4 separate regions of the Homo sapiens genome follow, and all the other regions are linked to region 2. Evidence: promoter capture Hi-C in human tissues and cell types (Jung and others, 2019). All regions are on one chromosome and are shown on one strand. The core of a region is centred on a gene start or on the middle of the fragment in contact, and the rest is flanking DNA. Distances in the headings are between cores, read along the strand shown. Region 1 has its middle 70 kb from the start of LNX1-AS2. Region 2 holds the start of SCFD2 (sec1 family domain containing 2). Region 3 overlaps LOC100506444 (a long non-coding RNA gene). Region 4 holds the start of LOC124900701 (a long non-coding RNA gene).

Region 1 (2,700 bases), core at 44-2,543, 300 kb after region 2:
AATGTATCAAATTTTAAAGGAAAATCCTAAAAGCTCGTTGATGCCCTCTTCCTGAAAATTCAAAGCCAGGCCTTTGTTCAAAGCCAGGAGGTGGTGAAACAGAGCTGGGAGCAGTATAGGACTGTGTGGGACCACTGATTCCTCTGAAGATGTAGTGAGAACAGACCAAGGAACTCAGGGTAGAAATACAAAAGGTAGGTACATGACAGAGGAGTAAATGGAAATGTGGAGGAGGTTGGCTTTTCTCATAGAATCCTGACACTTTTTCTATCTCCAAGAGCTTTTTCAGAAATAAATTTAATAGACAAGACTGCTAACTAAAAGCCTTTTTTAAAAAAGTATTACAATAATCAGTAGTAAATCTGAAGTATTAAAGATAACAGTAGTGGTTAGAGTCTTATACAAATTCAACATTAAGGCCTTAAATCTAACTTGTCAGTCACTTATTTTAGCCAGAGCATTTGCATGGACCCCAGGCCCCCTGGAGGCCCTGTGCGACTCTAGAGGTTCAAATAATGATGCCTAACACCATGTGGCAGATATGATCGAAACGAATCTACATATATTCCTACATGCATTTAATTCACACAGCAGATGAAGAAACTAAGGCATAGTGGAGTAGCTAGGTAATTTTCTGAAGTTTAGGGTGGTAATAAGTAGAGGAGCAGAATGTTAATCTCTTTGTTCCGAGAAGCTCTGATCGTATCAACTTCTGTGTGGTTGACCAGTTGGCTGCTTGCTTCCACCATTCTTCCTTTCTGGAAGAGGCTTGGGATGCATTCACTTCCCAGCCTTGCTTGCAGCTAGAACATGCACACATGCAACCCAATATTGGCCAATGGGAACTTAGGGAAGTCAGCTGGGGGACTTCAGGGAAGACTTTTTTTCCTAATAGAAGAAGATGCCTGCAAAGAAACCTCTTTCTCTCTTCCAAATATTGTGGGAGTGTAAATGTGTCGCTTAGAATGTGGCAGCCCCTATGCTGCCAAGCTTGCAGATTGCAGAGTGGAGAGATGGGAAGAGGCTCTATTCTTCATGATGCTATTGATCTGCTAATCCAATCTCAGCCTTGCCTGCCTATCTCTCAACTTCTTCTATTGTAAGATTATTAAGTTTCGTTTTTGTTTAAAACCACTTTTAGTGGATCTGTTCTGTTACTTGTAGCTGAAAGCAACTGAAACATTATTACTTTATGCCTCCAAGAATACTTAATTAATTGTAATCTCAGTATTTTGAAACTGTATTTTAAATGGAGCTGGGAAACCCTATAAGAATACAGAGCACACATTTCATATACAACAATCAGACTCCTGCTTCATTCTGTTCTTTGAGCTACAAACACATAAAACATTATTAATGACAAATTGAGTCATTTTTAAATGAATCTTACTAAAAGTACAAATGAAAAAAAAACTAATTCACTTTTTTTAAGCTGGAGGAAACCTAGTTTTAAAAAGTGCTAATTTACTTTGCTGTGCAAAGGCCTAGTAGTAATTGTTGAAATAAGGGGAAATCAGAAATATGAATTGGAAGTACCCCCCTGCCATGGACCAGGATGTGTATACTTTGCTCTGTACTTTTACCATAAATAGTTTTCAAAATTTTATGTAACTATTCATCAAGAGATGGTCATTTATATTTTGGAAGTTTAAAAATTCAGAATGGTCCTCACTTCTGCATATTTCTATTGGAAAACAGGATCCATATTCTGTTTGGATAGAATATAATGAAAGGGAATAAAATCTTGAAAGCAGTTTTGGTAGAAATCAAAATTTTTGCTTCAGATTACACTGCCCTAAATGGCAACCTGACTGAGAATAAATTAGTGTGAACTGATTCCACACTGTCAGGCAAGCTGTCCGCACCTGCTGAGGTGATAGTTGAGGGTGGGGGAGTTCTGTATATATTTAGACAAAGAGAGAGAGATGGATTTGAAGGAATTGGCTCATGCAATTATGGAGGCTGGTAGGCTGGAGACCCAGGGAAGAGCTGATGTTGGAGTTCAAGTACAAAGGCCATCTGCTGGCAGAATTCCCTATTCTTCTGTGGAAGTCAGTCTTTGTCTATTAATGCCTTCACCAGATTGGATGAAGCCCATCCACATTACAGAAGAGTAATCTGCTTTACTCAAAGTCTACTGATTAAATGTTAATCTCATTTAAAAATACCTTCAGAGAAAGATCTATTTGGTAAAACATTATTCTATTAGGTTGGTGCAAAATAATTGTGGTTTTTGCCATTATGTTTTTATTATCATACTTTAAGTTCTGGGATACATGTGAAGAATGTGCAGGTTTGTTACATAGGTATACACATGCCATAGTGGTTTGCTGTGCCCATCAACCCATCATCTACATTAGGTTATTTCTCCTTATGCTATCCCTCCCCTAGCTCCCCACCTCCTGACAGTCCCCAGTGTGTGATGTTCCCCTCCCTGTGTCTATGTGTTCTCATTGTTTAACTCTCATTTATGAATGAGAACATGCGGTGTTTGGTTTTCTGTTCCTGTGTTAGTTTGCTAAGAACAATGGTTTCCAGCTTCATTCATGTTCCTGAAAAGGACACGAACTCATCCCTTTTTATGGCTGCATAGTATTCCATGGTATATATGTGCCACATTTTCTTTATCCAGTCTATCACTGATGGCATTTGGGTTGGTTCCAAGTCTTTGCTATTGTGAACAGTGCCACAATAAACATA
Region 2 (2,700 bases), core at 57-2,556:
TGTGAATACTGGCATTCGTAAATTTCTAAAAATAAAATTTCCCAGGTGCACAGTTTTCCTCCCTGTCAGCATAATCTTGGGCTAAAGTTGTTGTTTAACAAGGCAATGGGCATTTATGACATTTCTACCCATTACAGCATTTAACAAATGTTATTGTAATTGCTAATTCACCTGTCTGTATTCCACTTTAGACAATAAACTCTGTGAGATTAGAGACCGTGTCCATCTAGTTCATCTTTGTATCCTCAATCTAATATATAATAAAAGGTCAATAAAATATATGCTGAATCAATGAAAGTCCCAGCAATGTGGGGAATGGTAATGAAGAACTCCAGAGCAATGCACTTACCTGTGAGATCCAGGGTTCTGTCCACAAAAACCACTGATGCCCTGCCTGCAGCAGTCTTCTTCCTGTTCTTTGCAGGGGCATAATTGGCCAGATCCGCAGCGATGACCTGACTTAAGGAACCTACAGCAAAACACTCCTCCCGTACTCCTAAATGTTCACACAGAGAACTGAGGCCTGACACTAGGCATCTGATCTGCAGCAGCAGCTCTGGGGTTAGCGTAGTGGAGTCCACATCACCCAGGCTTCCCAGCTTCCTCTTGTCCGGTCGGGCGCTATTAAGGAGGTGCACATCCTGGGGTAGCAGTGGGAAAAGGGATGCAAAAGCTGGAGTCAAGGCAAAGTGGGGAGCAACAGGGGCAAGCAATAACGGGACATGGAACACCTCGGCCGTGTAGTTCATGTTGCCCATCCATTCACACAGCTTCTCCTCCAGCTGCTCGAACACCGGCTGCTGCCCCTCCATCTCGGCCGCTGCCGCCGCTGGGACATGATTAGCTGTGAGGTGGACAGCGTGGCTCACGGTTGTGACCACCACACAATACTGGAAGTGACTGCGGCAGATGATGTCCCGTAGGATCTCCACGGTCCGGCCTTTCAGCAGGCAGCTCAGCACAAACACTGCCTTGGGCTGCTTGGCTCCACCACCAATTGCGTCGGGCTCGAACTCTCGCAGGTGACAGTCAGGACCCCCCACCGCCTCCAGGAGACGGGTGGATCCGCAGCCCCAGTGCAGGCTCTCGGCGCAGGCGGCGTCCAGGTAAACCACAGCCCGTTTCACTTTGGCCAGCACCTGCTCCCATCCTTGCTGGGTAAAGGACAGTACGCCCGAGGCGCTCATGGTTGGGGATTCGCAGACTTGGGAAACTACGGTGCAGGAACTTCTTTCAGAACTCACCGCTTCCGGAAATTGGGCTCCGGGAGACTTTGACAGTCTCCACAGTACACGTGGTCGGCCTCTGACACGCTCCCTGATGGCGCTCGGTGATGACGTTAAACTGAGCGGTGATTGGCTAGAGAGGAGGCCGGGAGTGAGGAAGGATGGCGCGGTCGGGAAAGAAGTGGGTGGGGCTCTGTGGCTCCGGGCTTCCTCAAAAGCTCGTGGAGATCAGGTGTTTCCTGAGATGGAGCTGAACTGAGTTCTTTCCGTCGCTCGGCCTGTCTGCGCAGATAATCTTCTCAGATAATCTTCTCATGTTCCTTGAAAAGTCTCCGAAATAAAAACCTAATCCGAAATTTGGTATCTTCCTTAGATATGAACACGTCTCCAAAAGTACAGCCACCTTCTCAATCTAAACTCAGAGCAACTAGAAAAAGATAATAAAAACAACCGTGTGCAATATTTTGGGTTTATAGATTGCTGTCACATACGTTATCGCCCACAAGCCTCATAACAAACCCTGTTGTTCTCATTTTCACTTTCTCCATCTTTCCTCCCTCATCTCATCGTCACTACATCTTATAGGCTTAAAAACTCTCAGAATTCAGCCCTTCCTCTCCATTTTTGCTGTCACAAAAACCCAACATCATCGCTCACCCAGGCAATGATCTCCCAACATTTTCTGACTTTTGATCTCTTTACCCTCCAATTCTATTTTCTTCCTAATAAACAAAGTTGGTCCTACAACTTTCCTGCTTAAAAGCTTCTCCTAGCCCAGTTGCCTATAGGATACATCCACACTCTTTAAAAAGCATCAACATCCTTCTTGATTTCTCAATTTCTCTCCAGCTATTCCCAACATGGAGAAAAATTGTACCGATACAATGAAGTCAATAGGCTGAACCCAAAATGTTTTATGGGTTCTGTTTGTTCCACCAATATACTTACATTACTAAGTATAATCTCTGTGCTAAGCTTCAAAGATGCAATGGTTAATAAAATTCATTACCTAATCCACAAAGAATTTACCTGGTAAACTTACCGAAAATAATCATTCCAACAGTACTGCCTGTGAGAGACTTTTTCTAACTCACCACCACTATCACCCTATCACCTCTCACTTCCCCCACCTATCAAACCACTCAATTGATACATTCGCTAAGTACTTGCCATATCATGGGGTAAGTATTAACACTATTTTCTTTAAACTATCTGTTTTGCTAAATTATGCACTAGATGCTTGGTATCCCCAACACTTATAACAGGTGTTCAATAAATGTTCGTTGAATGAATGTTCAATTAATATCCATGGCCAGGCGCGGTGGCTCATGCCTGTAATCCCAACACTTTGGGAGGCCGAGGTGGGCAGATCACCTGAGGTCAGGGGCTCAAGACCAGCTTGGCCAACATGGTGAAGCTCCGTCTCTACTAAAAGTACAAAAAATAGCTGGACATGGTGGCAGGTACCTGTAAT
Region 3 (2,700 bases), core at 166-2,665, 340 kb after region 2:
TCAAGGAAAGCAACATGTACTGTGTGCGTGTGTGTGTGTGTGTGCATGCTTTGGTGTGTGTTTGAGTTTGCCTGAGAACAGGAGTTTCCACAATTAATCTTGGATCATGAAAGATATCTATGGCAGAGATAAGAGAGCTAGCAAACTAGCATCCTTAAGGACTCAGCAGATGCCTACAGGTTAAAAATTCATGCAGACCTGTTGGGAAATAAGAGAGAAATGAGATGGTACGTGAGGTGACTTTACTATGTGCATTTGTTTGCTGGGGCCTGTCGTCACAAAATACCACAGATTGGGAGGCTGAAACAACAGATATTTACTTTCTCACAGTTCTGAAGGCTGGAAGTCCAAGACCAAAGTGCCTGTTGGTTTCTTCTGAGGCCTCTCAGTTGGCTTGTAGATGGCTGACCTCTTGCTGCCTCTTTGAGGTCATCCCTCTGTGCACACCAGCCCTGGCATCTTTCTCTTCTTATAAGGACACAGTCATATTGGATTAATGCCCCACCCTAATGACCTCAGCGTAATCACTTCCTTAGACCTTTTCTCCAAGTATGGTTACATTCTGGAATATGCCGGCTGGGGAGGGGTGGGGTGGGTTGGAACTTCAACACATGAATTTTGGGGGAAACAGATTCAGCCCATAACACTGTGTATGTCTATGGGGACAAAGAATTGTACTGATTAAGGTAAATTATGTTAGTTGTTATAACTGATAAATTCTGAAGTCTTAGAGCATAATACAAACAAAATCTATTTTTCACTCCCATGAAAGTCCATTTCAATCGGCCAGTCTATGGCTGTAGAAAATGCAGTCATTCCCAGACCTACCTGCCATCTTCAACACATGTTGTGTCCATGGATATTTTGAAAGGAGAAGTCAGAAGGAAAGTATGGACAAGGCAAAAGACTCTCAATGGCCTTCACCCAGAAGTGACACATTACTTCCACTTACACTGCATCAGCAGGAGCTGGTCTTATGCATGCATCTAGAGGAAAGGGGTCTGGGCAATGTAATTTGCATCTAAGCCCAGGAAGGGAAAGTGGGTTAGGTAAACATCTAGTCAATCTTTGCAGGGATGAAGTAAGCTTGGCCAGCTGAGTTCTAAAGATGGGCCGGGTGTTCTGGGGAACTAGTCAGCAGGTACTAGAAAGTCAAGTAAACATTCATTAAAGAACCCTTCGAGGTTCCCAAAGTCATGACGGACCTTGGTCTTGGGTGGTGTTCCCCAACCTCTTTCATGTCATGGCACACATAGGAAAGGATCATTCTTGTGCTGTATATTAGACTCTCTGGATGAAGTTATTCAAGGCCAGAGGTGATACATGAATTAGGAGGCCCCATGCACTCCAGGTGGCCACCTGGCCACTGTGAAGGCTGAGGATCTTATGGCATTTGCCATTTAAGATGTCCAGGGTTAATGGCTGGTAACCTGTTTGCAACATACTGGTGTGCTGCAGCTTACAGGTGGGAATGTTGAGGTCTAGAGAACAAAGCAAGTAACATGTGGATTAGATGTGCATTCTGTGAAGACCAAACCTACTGCCACCATCATGGGATAAAACAAAAAGGGAAACCAGGTGCTCTAAAAGCCAAGGACAGCAGAATTGTCCTGAAGGATTCTGCAAGATAATAAAGCATAGGGACCACAGATTTTCCCTTCATCTGCAGTCCGCGCTCTTAAAACTAGTGAGTTTTAATTATGTTATATTTGTAGCAACTCTTTCTTCTCTCTCTGGAGTAATTAATTGGAAGAGAATTACAAAGGAAACCCAGACATGGGTAGTAATATTCATCAGAGGACACAACAGAGGAAAGAAAATAGAACATAGGCTCTTGAACATTTTAACATAGGTTCAAGATTTTAACATTTATATACTGTCTTTGGTTTGGTTTAAATCATATCCACTGTGAACTAACAAATATTTCATGTTATCTATAAATAACTCAGTGAGTGCTTACAAATTATAGGGCAATATAGTTAGATCACAATGTGGCAGAGTGGCTGAAGGCCAATTAGAAAGCTCATATGCTTTTAACAAACACCCCACCGAAAGAAATCAATTTACATCCCGTGATTATTGCACCATCAGAGAATCTTTGCAATGTTATTAACCCTGGACATCCTAAATTACAAATGGAGATAACACTTAAAATTGATTAGCAGTGTATTTTGAGATAAAATGGTGTTTTTGCCTTGCTAATCACCTCTTTCACAGAAATTATTCTTGCTTTCCATGAAGTTATGAAAAATAAATTGGAGAAATCTTTTATTAAGATTTTAAAAGCAAACAAATAACTTTCAGGATAATATTCAAATCCTTTGTAATTTCCTTTCTCCATTTTCATCAACTGTGGGAATGCTTAACCACACAGGAAGAAGTTGGTGGACTTGGAAAGTTGCTGAATTCTCTTATTTGAATCAATCCACATTAAACACAAGCTATTGTTTTATTAGCAAGTGAAAGATAAACATAGCTTACACTGAGTGGATATGGAAGAGAAATTGGTTTCCTCTAGCCCAGTGATCCTTGAACAAATGAATGATTCTGACAGAAACCTAAGGAGAGAAGATTTTCCTGAGATTGGGTGGAAACAAACCATTCATGTATCGAATCCCTTGTCACCCACAAAATCCAGCCTACCAGGTTCACTAGCTCCTTAAATCTATGTACCACTAGGGGTGCATGAGACAATTTTAA
Region 4 (2,700 bases), core at 201-2,700, 330 kb before region 2:
CACAGTTCAACCAAACCCTGGGGAATATAGATCTTGGATATCTGCTTGGAACATGACACTTCATTGCAAGCCAGAATATGAAAATTTTTATTAAGTCTGCATTCAGTGAAAAGAAAATTAGTGGTGCTCTGGATCCTTCTAAGAGGGTTGGCCAATGTTAGGCTGTAAGTGTAATACTTTTTGAATAATAATTGGTAACACAAAGTGACTCTTGGAATACCACATGCTCCCAGAATTTTCCTTAATAAGAACAGCATGTTAGAAAGATAATTCTGAAAAGAAAAACGAATACAAGTCTAGAAGAAGTCATGTTTTCTGATTTACTGAGCTCTTTACTGGCATTTACTGGAATCCAATAGAACTCCAGCCTCCTGGAGTTGGCAAATCCTTTCATGAGTCTGAGGAGGGTTCCATGAAGCAGGAAATCTGCCAAAATGAAATCACCTTTCTTTGGCCCACCCTCAATTGTAAAGACAACTGGATTGTCTTGGATACAACTCTTCAGATTGATAATTGGGCTCCTTTATATTTCCTTACAGATGTTCAAATGTTCACAGAAGAGTTTGTTTTAAACAGTTTTCATTGTAAAACAGTTTGCTTTTAATTAAAACAGACTTGCATGGAGAGTTTCATGAACAAATCATGCCTGACATCTGAAGCCTCTGAGCCTTGTCCATTATGAATTTTACTCTAAGTATAAAACGATAGGGAGAAAGAACATGGAAAATAAAATGCCAGGTTGTTAACAGAAAAAAGAAGACATTTAAAGTTTTTTGTTTTTTTTTTTTTTAGACAGGGTGTTGCTCTGCATTCATAGTGGAATACAGTGGTGTGATCACATCTCACTGCAGCCTCAATCTCCTGGGCTCAAGCAATCCTCCCACCTTCGCCTCCTGAGTAGCTGGGACTATAGTCATGTACCACAATGCCCAGCTAATTATTTTTTTTCTTTCAGAGATGGTGGATCTCACTTTGCTGCCCAGGCTAGTCTTGAACTTTTGGCTCAAGTGATCCTCCTGCCTCAGTCTCTCGAAGTGTTAGAATTATAGGCGTGAGTCACCATGCCTAGCCTAAAGTATTTTAATACCGACAAAAATATTTCCTTAAACAGGATTTGAATTCTGAGCTTTCCATCTACCAGCACTATATATTCCCTTTCCAGGTAGCAGTTTGGCTACTCTAGTCTAGTGCCTTCAGAATTCTGAAAAGCTCTTCTGGGCTTTCACTTTCCATTTCATCAAAGAGAAAAAGAGATTCAGTCTTCCTTTATGGGAACCCCATTTGGGATCAGAGTTTGGCTCTCAGGCCACGGTCTAAAACATATACATACCATATGTGTTCAATAAATGTTCATTTTTTTCTTTCTCATCCTTTGTTCTCTACTCTCTTATTTCCAATCCAGTTTGCATGTCCAATTATCAGGTCTATCAGAATAAGCCTTAAAATACCAATTTCATTAGGTGACTTTCTTGCTCAAAATCTTCCAGTGACTCCCAGCTGCCCATAGAATGTAGCCTGAACTTCTCTTCCTGGTATTCAAGGCCCTCTGTAATCTGACTACAATATACTTTAAAATTCTCTAACACACTTTAAAGACAAATTTCTATTGGGCCAATCTTCTCACCAATTCCTGCCTTTAAGTGCCAGGCCCTAACCAAATTTCTCACTGGGCCTGAGTTTAGGCATATCTTTTGCAAGAGGATTGGCTGCTCCACTCCTGCCCCGATAGATCACAGTAGCCTTAGTATAGCTACCAGGTAAGGGTGCCTCCTGTATATCATGCACTTTTCATACATTATCTTTTTTCATCATCATAATAACTTGTAAAGACCACATTCTGATTCCATTTTACAAATAAGGAAGTTGGAGCTCAGTGACATTGTGACGTAAGACCATGTTGTTGTTATGAAGTGGTGAAAACAGGATTCTCTCCTAAGACGGTTGCTAGAGCCATTGCTCTGCCCCTGCCTCTATGCTGACTTCATTCATCTCTTCTGCTCTGAACCTTGTCCAGTTTTATCTTTGGAATCACTTATTTGACACTTACACTCCTTCTGTCTTGAACTGGTAATTACATGATCCATTTGTGCTTATCTTCCCAACACGGCTGTTAGAGGGCAGTGGCTTCATGCTATTAACAAATCACCTCCATCAGCATTGAGCATAGTACTATGGCATAGCACAAATGCAGTGGGTGAGTATGTTCTGAAATCCTACTTATAAACTTCTTTTTGAGTTGAATTCTCCCTCAGACCTCCTGTTTTTGTTTAGAGTGCTGTTGCTCTTTGCTGAGTTAATGTTATCAAATGAAGCAATATATCTTTATCTGAGACCATGTAACTACCGCAGCATGTAACTCAATATGAGAGAGGGAGGTGAGCTTGACTCAAATGTCAATTTTCTAAAATTAACAAAGTATTTATGAATGAATGAACTTACATGAGTCATCTGAAGAAGGATCTTTATTTATAAATAATCCACATTGGAATTTGATTTTTTTTCTCCAACCATACCTCAATTTCATAAGATGGGGTTCATTTGAATCAAAATTTAATGTCCTACAATGCAATAAAAATGAAACAATGTGAGATTCCATATGCTTCTCATGGAAGCTTGCTAGTCTGTAAAATGGAAAGTACCTAGCCATGTTTAATGTAGATACTTTGCTTTGCTCTATTTGTCTAAAAATTTCCGAGGAAT

What was found. Contacts are between HindIII fragments. The study calls those that stand out against the background at their distance.
Region 1: a contact is called between a fragment that was not itself captured here and the fragment with the promoter of SCFD2 in region 2, in 1 of the 25 tissues and cell types used here (mesenchymal stem cells).
Region 3: a fragment that was not itself captured here is called in contact with the fragment with the promoter of SCFD2 in region 2 in 1 of the 25 tissues and cell types used here (pancreas).
Region 4: a fragment that was not itself captured here is called in contact with the fragment with the promoter of SCFD2 in region 2 in 1 of the 25 tissues and cell types used here (IMR-90 fibroblasts).

What each region holds. Positions count from the first base shown.
Region 1 is chr4:53,661,546-53,664,245 of GRCh38, forward strand. No RefSeq gene overlaps it. Among named protein-coding and RNA genes, the nearest start is that of LNX1-AS2, 70 kb to the left of the region's middle. The HindIII fragment of the contact is 3,037 bases long and covers 1-2,700 here.
Region 2 is chr4:53,364,755-53,367,454 of GRCh38, forward strand. It overlaps SCFD2 (sec1 family domain containing 2), which reads right to left and starts at 1,307. Exons shown (of 9, transcript NM_152540.4): 1 at 350-1,307. The coding sequence starts at 1,187. RefSeq lists enhancers at 733-782, 1,003-1,202, 1,223-1,272. The HindIII fragment of the contact is 11,346 bases long and covers 1-2,645 here.
Region 3 is chr4:53,707,216-53,709,915 of GRCh38, forward strand. All of the region lies in intron 1 of LOC100506444 (a long non-coding RNA gene), which reads left to right. Among named protein-coding and RNA genes, the nearest start is that of LNX1-AS2, 120 kb to the left of the region's middle. The HindIII fragment of the contact is 4,669 bases long and covers 1-2,700 here.
Region 4 is chr4:53,037,919-53,040,618 of GRCh38, forward strand. All of the region lies in intron 5 of SCFD2 (sec1 family domain containing 2), which reads right to left. LOC124900701 (a long non-coding RNA gene) reads left to right here and starts at 697. Exons shown (of 3, transcript XR_007058116.1): 1 at 697-2,194. The HindIII fragment of the contact is 4,103 bases long and covers 1-2,700 here.